Linked DNA regions of Homo sapiens: all the other regions are linked to region 2. Evidence: promoter capture Hi-C in 16 types of primary human blood cells and fetal thymus (Javierre and others, 2016). All regions are on one chromosome and are shown on one strand. Each heading gives the region's core, a stretch centred on a gene start or on the middle of the fragment in contact. The rest is flanking DNA. Distances are from core to core; before and after follow the strand shown. Region 1 holds the start of LOC124904202 (a long non-coding RNA gene). Region 2 holds the start of PIGK (phosphatidylinositol glycan anchor biosynthesis class K). Region 3 overlaps AK5 (adenylate kinase 5).

Region 1 (3,020 bases), core at 33-2,532, 220 kb before region 2:
GGTATTTTGTTTTTCTACACAATTTAGTTGGTGCTATCTAAAATGAAAATGTTTGAATATTTAACCTCTGTACCAGTTTAAAACTTGAAGGAGAAAAAGAGGTTTCTAAAAATCAAACTGCTGTGGAAACTGCTTTACCCAAAGCTTTGGTCCACAGCCTTCATAAGATCACCTATCAGGGCAAATAAAATTTAGCCATGTGAACAGGTCCCATTTTGTCAGAAATATAATTTGGATTCAACTGTCCTTTTATAAACTGGTAAGTTTAAATTACTATGTTTTGCTGTCTCATGATTAACATTTCAAAATGAAAGCTAAAGAATCTGCTTCGATGTATTCATGTTGTCTGTATGTTTTTATGTTGCATGTATGTATTTTTCTACCAAAATATATCAAAGAGCTAATTAATTAATTAATTAAAGGGAAAAATTAAGCACTTCAATCAAGTATGTTATCAAAAACATAATAGCCACCTCAAAGTTTTTAAGTTCACCTGACTTGGGTAAATGTTTGATAAGTAAACTGATTTTAAAATTGTTGATAAAATAAAAACAGAAATGTCTTAAGAATTGTCAGCAAAGATTTGTGCCTGAGTTTACTGGTCAGGCAGTTTTACATTTATCTTTGTTAGATATATTTTAAGGAGTCAGTGTTTGACATGAATGTCATAGAACTATGAATCCATCCTAAAAAGAGAACGATCTTTGTTTATGTAATTCCTTGATAAGTAATACTAATTTAATATTGTTGATTTAATGAAAGCAGCTGTATTTTCTGAGTTATTGGCAAGATACTGAAGTATTTAACTTTATGGTTCTTAGTTGGGTGAGGAATGCTTAATAGTCACAGCCTGTAAAAACGGCTAACAAGGAATTAGCCTGAAATAATTACTAGCCTTGTCTAATATCTTAGTTTTCATAAGTAATATAGTTATAATTGTTAAAAATAAACAAATTAGGTGAATGTAAATGGTATAATCATTTATAAATTAATTCTTCTTAGTTTCAAAAAATCTTTTTGATAACTTAAAATTTTAAAGTTATGTTAAATTAAGTAACAGATACTCATTAAGTATCTGGGTCATTTCAAAATAAGATAAAATATTGAAACAAATTGCTGAACACAAATATAAGTTTGTTCTTGGCTTCTTAAATTTTATAGAAAAACAAATATATTTGGGTTCATTAATACACATTAAAATTATGAGGAAACATGTTTCCAAAATTATAAAATCATTCTTATATATAAAATACTGATATGGAACAGTTCAAAATTTCTTGCTTCCTACACTTTCATTAGAAATTAATGTTACTAAGAGTTTGAATTTTAATTAACATATATAATTCTGTATACAAAGCATACCAATAAATGTAAAATGTGTTTTGGGAGGAGAAGTTATAAGAAAGGGATAAAAATATGTTCTTTGTTGAGAAAAAGAAAAATTTGTCTAATTTAGAGGTTATTTAAAGATTGTTTCAAAATACGAATTTAGAAAGGAAATAGAAACAAGACAGAAAGGAACCAGTAAGTAGGAAACAGAGATGTGAAGAAAGTTTTAAGTGTGAAGATGTATTTTTGGCATGGAATGTTAGAAGTGAATAATTTTTCAAAATAACAAGGGAACAAGGAAAGTAAATTTTTATCCTAAGGTGACTTGTTATTTTAAAAAGCGAATGTATAGGACAAAACTAACGGCTTAAGCATGCCATCAAAGGTCTGTGCAGATCGTGAAAGGTTTTTGAGGGATGAATTTTATAAAAGGAGTTTTGTGTGTGTAATCAAGTTTGCTATAAATAAAAGGGAATTATGTATATCTTTCTAAGGATTAAGGATTATATACATAACTTAGTTTATAAGTTAAAACTTAATTTACAACTAAGATATAAAACTAAGATTTTGGTTTCTTATATTAGAACAACAGAGTTTTCTTGAAGTACTAATCTGCTCTTAGTAAAATTTGTGAAAGTCTTTGATTTTTAATTCTGTAAAATTTCAGCCATCTTCTAAACTGCAGCTTCTTTTTTTTTTTTTTTTGAGACAGAGTCTTGCTCTGTCACCAGGCTGGAGTGCTGGCGCCATCTTGGCTCACTGCAACTTCTGCCTTCCGGGTTCAAACGATTCTCCTGCCTCAGCCTCCTGAGTAGCTGGGACTGCAGGTGTACGCCACCATGCCAAGCTAATTTTTATATTTTTAATGGAGATGGGGTTTCACCATGTAGGCCACGATGGTCTCGGTCTCTTCACCCTGTGATCCCCTGGCTTCAGCCTCCCAAAGTGCTGGGATTACAGGCGTGAGCCACCATGCCCAGCCTCTGTTTTACAGTCTATTTACTTTCCCTAGTTTCAAATTAAAAGTGCTATGTTCTTCATTTAGGATGGTAATTTCATTTCTTGAGGTAAAGTTTTCCTCTTGAAGCTTTTCAGATTCATATCTCAGAAGTACAATTTTTGCTGTATCTTGCAGCACAGGATTTGAGGTCATACAACACTGCCTTCTGCTCTTCCTGTCCCTCCTTGAGAGGATACATCTTTTTGCTTGGCTAGGTTGATAACTCGCTCCTTCAACTTTTTCGTCAGCTCCTGAAACTTTTTTCTCTACTTCAAGCTCTGCTGTTATGACCTGATGCTCAAATGTTTGTCTTGAAGCCCTAGAAAAGCAATGTTCCCCTCCAGTATATCTTGATTCTGCAATCTTGGTTTTTCTTGATATGTTTGAATTGTTCCATCTAACCAGGCAATTTCATGTTTTCACTTTTTTAAAGAGCCATGTATTCCTCTGCTCAAGGTACTAGTTTTCTTGTTTACTTCTTCTATGATATGATGTAAACTCATACCACTGGACCCACTCTTCTTGTGTCTGATTAAATTCAAGTAGTTTTTCATCAGGTTAGACTTCCAGGTTATTTAAACGGGCTTCCAGTAAGAAGCAATTATATTGCAGGAAGCTTTTTCTTTCTTTCCCCCTTTTGGTAATTGGCCTAAGATGAAGATTTTTGTAAGTTCCTGTGCTTCACATTGTC
Region 2 (3,193 bases), core at 377-2,876:
TAATCTTGTCAGACATTATCTTATGTACAGGAAGAGGCAAGGGCTAGGATCACCAAACTTACCTTTTGTAAAAATTCAGTGATTCAGGCAAGAGATGTGCAAACCTATTCCCTATCCTGCTTATGGTCTTCAAGGCATTCTTCCACAAGGCTGCTCACAGTCAATGAGTCAGGGGCTTTGTGAAATATTGCTGGCAAAGGAGCAGAATGAGCAAATGGCTTCTTATCTTTGCTACTTTGTTTCATAATCATCAGCATCCAATAGATATCTGTTGAATTAATGAATACATGGAAGATATTCTGGCAGTGTATTTACTTTCTAGGATTCACGTAACGGAAAACCTAAATTTGACTAAATAGCATGAAACCTCTCACAAAGTGCAATAGCAAAAGAAACAAATAAAAGGAAAAGAGAGACAAGAGAATGGGAAAAGCAATAGCATAAAATATGGCAAAGGCTAATGTTACTTATTTATAAATATATTATTCAAATTCATATGCAAAACATAAATATATAAACAAAGAATTTACATCAGAGGACACAGAGATAGTTTAGAAACACAAGAAAGACATCAGATCTTGATAGTAACCAAAGAATTATAAGTATAGTTACCTAGGGGTAACATTTCATACCAAAGAATTTAAAGGAAAAAAAATGGTATGGTTTGGTGTTGTGTATTCTGATAGTGCTGTAAGCTTGTTCATTTTGGAAAGCAACATCATTTATAGTTATTAAAATGTTTTGGAATATTTTGACCCCAAATTCCTAGTTCAGGAAAATTATACAAACAAAATAATTCAACAGATTTAAAAAGCCAAACACACAAAAGATACTCTTTACAATATTATTTTCATAGTAAAACTTAAAAACTTTGCATTGTGCAGCAGAGGGACAATTACTTTGGCTGAGGCATCAATAATGGATGGAATTTTATCTCACCATTAAATGTTAAAATTGTGAGGAAGCAGCGTGGAAACGTTTATGTCATACTAGATGAAATGCATAAATTAAAACTGAACTCACATAATAAAGAGAATGGTGGACCATACATATACACCAGCTGTGTCTCTTCCAGATAGGCTTTAGTTCCATAATTACAGAAGATACTCAAGAAACAAAAACGTAACTAGCTTCCCATGTTAATCCTTTCACCAGGTAGTAGACCCCAAGCCTCTAAATTGCAGCGCCCACCCACATTTTCCATTTATAGTTTATCCAATTAATCATCTTTTTGTGCCAAAACGCTTGTTCTTCCCACCACATCCAGCTTCATATTTTCAAAGAATTGGCAGCACTCGGCAAAATAAATAAATAAATAAATAAATAAATAAATAAAATAAATAAGGGAACAGAGAAATAAGTTTTTAAAGTTTAAGGAGTTACGGGTTTTCCCTCCACTCACCTTTCAATTTTTTTTCTTAAATGTTATACCTATTTTACAACCTCCAAACTGAAAATGCAGTTAAAAATAAAAAGGTCAATATCCTGCGTCTACCTTGTCCCGGACTCTCGAGCTCCACAAAACCGCAGAGTTCTAAAGCCGGACCAGAGGGCCACCTCGAAGAGGCGCGGATGGTGTCGCAAAAACCCGCAGCGCTACTTTACGGCACTGCCTCCGCCCCTTCAGGTGCGGGAAGTCTGAAGCCGGTAAACATGGCCGTCACCGACAGCCTCAGCCGGGCTGCGACTGTCTTGGCAACTGTGTTGCTCTTGTCCTTCGGCAGCGTGGCCGCTAGTCATATCGAGGTAGGAGTCAGGCTCATTTGACCACAGCCGGGAGGCCGGCTGTGAGCCCTCCAGCAGATGTCCGATACACAGTAGCTGAGGGACGCCTCCTGGAGTCAATCAGCCCCTGACCCAGGCTGGGTTTGAGGAGGGTATCACTGGGCACGGGTTAGGACACTGTTGGTCTGTTTCAGCGTTTTAAAACGATGAATTGAAATAATCAAACCCTCGGAGACAGAGGAGGACCTGATCCTTTGCTCCTACATGTGTGCAGTTCTTAGGTGAAATACGAGCAAGAGGCTCGTGAAATGTCAGTGTGCAGCAACTGCTTTCCTACTACTCAACTGCAGCCCTCTGTTTTGATAGGAGTCAGACGGAACTGGAGAGATGAGGGCAATTTTAAGAATCCAGATAATAGAATTTAGTGATAATTAGAACATGGGATAAATATAAGTGTTTATTAAAACTCTCAAGTTTCTGGCTTAGGGGCAACACGTCTGGGTTAAGAAATGGAAGAGAAAAGGGGTGCTTAGTTTTATCCTGGGCTCCTCCAGCTTCCCATTTTTAAACGTGGACACAGGATGTTCTGGTGCTCTATAATGCTTTTACTATTCACCATACTCTGATGATTCCTCAGTCCCGGTCTACAATCTAGATGTCTGGTATCTTTTTCAGGCCTGCATATCCAGCTGACTAAGAATCCGGGATAGTCAGGAGACATTTGAAAATCCGTGTGCAAAGTTTTATCTTCTGCTTATCCTACCTCCTCTTAAAAAGACACTGAAAAACTAAGCACCCCTTTTCTCCTCCATTTCTCAACCAGATGTGCTGCTCCTAAGCTAGAAACCTGAGAGTCTTAATCTCTTTATCCCATATTCTAATTATCACTAAATTTTGTGATCTGAGTTCTTAAAATTGCCCTCACCTCTCCAGTTCCACTGACTTAATTCAGGCTGTGATCACTTCTTGTCTAGACTCTTGCGATTACTTTATCTTGTTTTCCATAGGCCTCCATACTCCCTGAGTTTGGTGCTAGATTCGTCTACACGAAATGTAAGCCTGATCAGGTTATTCTTCTGATGAAATCTTTTAAATATTTATTAATTGCATACAGAATAAAGTCTAAACGTTATGACCTGGTGCTTGCCTACTTTTCCAGTGTTCCATATTGGAACCTCTTCTCCCCACCACCTGGGCACCTTGAGCTTAGACCAGTGGACTCCAAACTTTTTGAATACACACCCTATCAGTTAAAAAAAGATATTGAGCATGAACTTCATATATATTTATGAATTACTGTTAATTTATATATTTGATGTTTATATAGCATAATTTTTAGAGAACATAAATATGAGTAAATAGAAGTTCTGTTTCCCTCCTTTATTCTAACTTTGACTGCTTCATCTTGGATACTATTACTGTTTTTTGTAGTTACATAATTGCTGTGCTTTTTCACATTACAATATTT
Region 3 (3,062 bases), core at 5-2,504, 200 kb before region 2:
TATACTCAAGAAAATAGCTCCTGAATACGTATATGAAATATACAGCCAGCCATTACACATGGACACTGGTCTGATCTGTTTGCTTTATTTGTGATGAATATTAGTTAAAGATGGGAACAAAGCCTCCCCCAAGAACATGTTCACTTGGCTTTTAGCCATTGCTGAGGAGCACTGATGAGAGGCGGAAGAAAGTTTTGGACATTTTTCTTTTTTAAAAATAAAGCCTAATTAGGGGGTTGGCTCATTTGCCAACTATTTTGGTTCATTAAAATATAGCAGCAGAGAGAGTTCTTCTGCTGAGAGGAAAATGACCCAGATAAATGTCTTCAGTTTTATTCAAAGAGAAAATGTATTTAACTTCTTGGCTATGCTTTCCTCGTTCATCATTCCCTTCCACAGACTAGTGATATGGTTTGGCTCTGTGTCCCCACCCAAATCTCATCTTGTAGCTCCCATAATTCCCACATGTTGTGAGAGGGAGCCAGTGGGAGATGACTGAATCACAGGGGCGGGTCTTTTCTGTGCTGTTGTGATAGTGAATGGGTCTCACAAGATCCGATGGTTTTAAAATCAGGAGTTTCCCTGGACAAGTTCTCCCTTTGCCTGCTGCCATCCATGTAAGATGTGACTTGCTCCTCCTTGTCTTCTGCCATGATTGTGAGGTCTCCCCAGTCATGTGAAACTGTGAGTTCTCCATTAAACCTCTTTCTTTTATAAATTGCCCAGTCTTGGGTATGTCTTTATCAGCAGCTTGAAAATGGACTAATACAGTTAGCGATAAAATAGCAGAGCCCTGAACCTGTAGCTGATGCTCAGTAAATATTATTAGTTTATTAGTGGGAAGGGATAGAGACACAGGCAAATTCTTGGGCAAGAGAACCTCATTTCTATCCCATGTTAACGTTTGATGATAAACCTTTCTTTAATTCACTGTGTTTTGAATCTTAGGACAAGGGAGTGCCAAAAAGCCAAACTTAGTGAATGAAAACTGTAGACTACTGTAATTTATCATGTAATATGTTATTAGTTATCTGTATATATTTCACAAAATGAGTTTTTATAATTCAAATTTTCATAAAACATTTACAAAGGTTCAACTTAAAAACATTTAAATAGAGAACTATTTTCAGATTTTAATTACCTGATCTTCATAATCAGATCCTGTATCAATGATCTCTCCAGTGTCCAATATCATCGAAGGATCAAGGTCACTTGAACCTAAGATTAGGAAAGAAAAGATAAGTGGATGGAGGTTGTCTATGTATGTTTCTAAAGCAAACAGTCTCTCACTAGGTTTCCATATTTTCCTATATCACATTAAATTCACAAACATTTCTAGACTGTTCTCATCTGCCAGGTACAATGTTTTGCTGGAGATTCAAAATGCAGAGACTCTGGACACTGTCTGCATCCTTAAGAAGAAGAAAATACTGTGAGGAAGAATAATTTGTCAACAAGAGTTATTATTAAAGGTTCAGCAACCCAAGAGAGTGAGCTACTAATTCTGATTAGTAGTAGAGGTGATGGTGGAGTTAAGATTCTTCATGAGGTACTAATCTATGATCCTGAATTTTGAGGGTGAATACAGGTTGTCCAGGAGGGGGAGCAGTTTCAGGATTTGCAACAATAATGGAAGTAGAAGGAACACCATGAGCAAAGTACAGAGTGGGAGGAGAGTAAGGGGTTTCCAGAAACAGGAAGGGCTAAGTTTGCGTACTCCCTGAAAACTCGAGTTTTTCCTCAAGCCTTCGGGTCACCTTAGTTGCTGAAGGTAAGAAAAATCGGGTTAACTTAATGTATGAATAGAGAGATTATTTCCCTTAGGTACTACAGGTTTCATTAAATCAGTTACCCATTAATCCCCAAGGCTCAGACTTAAACTGGTAATTTTTACAATGGGACTTCTGAAGCACAACTGATTCATCATTCTCATTTAATAACTCTTTCCTGCTAGGAAATATATATCATCTAACTACCCAGAAAGACTGAATTCAGTGCTGCCCATAAAATATTATATATCCTGTGAAAAAACATTGTTTCACTGTAAACTTGGCCTTGGCAAATCATTCTTAGTCAGAATATCCAATGAGTAATGCATAATGAATATAAATTTGTAAAAAATGTTAAGCATCTCATACACTTCTCAGATATAGACCTGTCCCCGATGTTGCTTTCATATTTTCTTTCCAAATGAGTCGGGGTATGTCCTTACACAGTCTTCTCTCATCTCTTCTCTTTTTTCCCCCTTCTCTTCTCTTATCATTGTCCCTGCTGTCTACCAACTTGACAAAGTAATAGCCATTACCAAATTGATTAAGTTCTAAGCAGTAATGCCAGTGTTTACTGTGTTTATATCTTTACATTTTTTACAGGATGATAAAGTTTTTCAAAATGGACATACTAAACCATCAAACCATTTTGGAAAAGTAATCATAGCGTTGCCATGAAGAGTTGCAGTTGCATAAGTGTGTTCAGAACAACCCTGGGTGATGCTAGTCATGCTGTCAGCACAGCCCTTGCCAGACCACTGTTCATAAGATGGCTGCTAGAATGGAGTTGGCAAGACTACCCACCATACTATTAACAGAGATTAGAAGGTAGAGGTGGGAAACTTTAATTTACATATGTATTTTAACATTAGTGGGATTATACATAATTTTTCTACCTTTGTACTTTTGGTATTTTTTTCAAATAAATAATTTTGTAAGGTGTATTTTGGGGCCAAAATACTCAGCCGTCGTAAAGCCCAGTTTGAAGGTCAGTTTGCACTTATGTTGTGAGGCAGTAAGTATCAGAAATAAAAAAAAAATCTATATATGTATTTTTCCCATTATAAGATAATAGACATTTTAGAACTATCAGGTTGGTGCAAAAGAAATTGTGGTTTTTGCCACTACTTTCAACGTCTGTTTCACAGAATCCCACTTCTCATTTTAGAAAAGAGGAAAATGAGATGCAGAGAAGTTAAAAAACTTGGCCTAGGTCATGTAGAAAGTGCCTGAGACCAAAGGCAGAGCCAGTAGCTCCTACTTCTCTTTATAACACACCATGCTGACTCCAAA

Evidence for each region. Contacts are between HindIII fragments. The CHiCAGO score rates a contact against its expected background, and 5 or more counts as called.
Region 1: a fragment that was not itself captured here is called in contact with the fragment with the promoter of PIGK in region 2 in 4 of 17 cell types (total CD8 T cells, total CD4 T cells, non-activated CD4 T cells and 1 more); the score reaches 6.2 in total CD8 T cells.
Region 3: a fragment that was not itself captured here is called in contact with the fragment with the promoter of PIGK in region 2 in 3 of 17 cell types (total CD4 T cells, non-activated CD4 T cells and naive CD4 T cells); the score reaches 7.5 in total CD4 T cells.

Annotation. Positions count from the first base shown.
Region 1 is chr1:77,434,659-77,437,678 of GRCh38, reverse strand. The region is part of intron 8 of AK5 (adenylate kinase 5); the gene reads right to left. It overlaps LOC124904202 (a long non-coding RNA gene), which reads left to right and starts at 75. Exons shown (of 2, transcript XR_007066178.1): 1 at 75-259. The HindIII fragment of the contact is 2,272 bases long and covers 147-2,418 here.
Region 2 is chr1:77,217,863-77,221,055 of GRCh38, reverse strand. It overlaps PIGK (phosphatidylinositol glycan anchor biosynthesis class K), which reads left to right and starts at 1,626. Exons shown (of 11, transcript NM_005482.3): 1 at 1,626-1,746. The coding sequence starts at 1,654. It overlaps LOC105378808 (a long non-coding RNA gene), which reads right to left and starts at 1,536. Exons shown (of 3, transcript XR_001738109.2): 1 at 1,403-1,536; 2 at 63-268. RefSeq lists an enhancer at 1,833-1,942. The HindIII fragment of the contact is 2,966 bases long and covers 698-3,193 here.
Region 3 is chr1:77,415,795-77,418,856 of GRCh38, reverse strand. AK5 (adenylate kinase 5) reads right to left here. Exons shown (of 14, transcript NM_174858.3): 8 at 1,142-1,218. Among named protein-coding and RNA genes, the nearest start is that of AK5, 140 kb to the right of the region's middle. The HindIII fragment of the contact is 4,885 bases long and covers 1-3,062 here.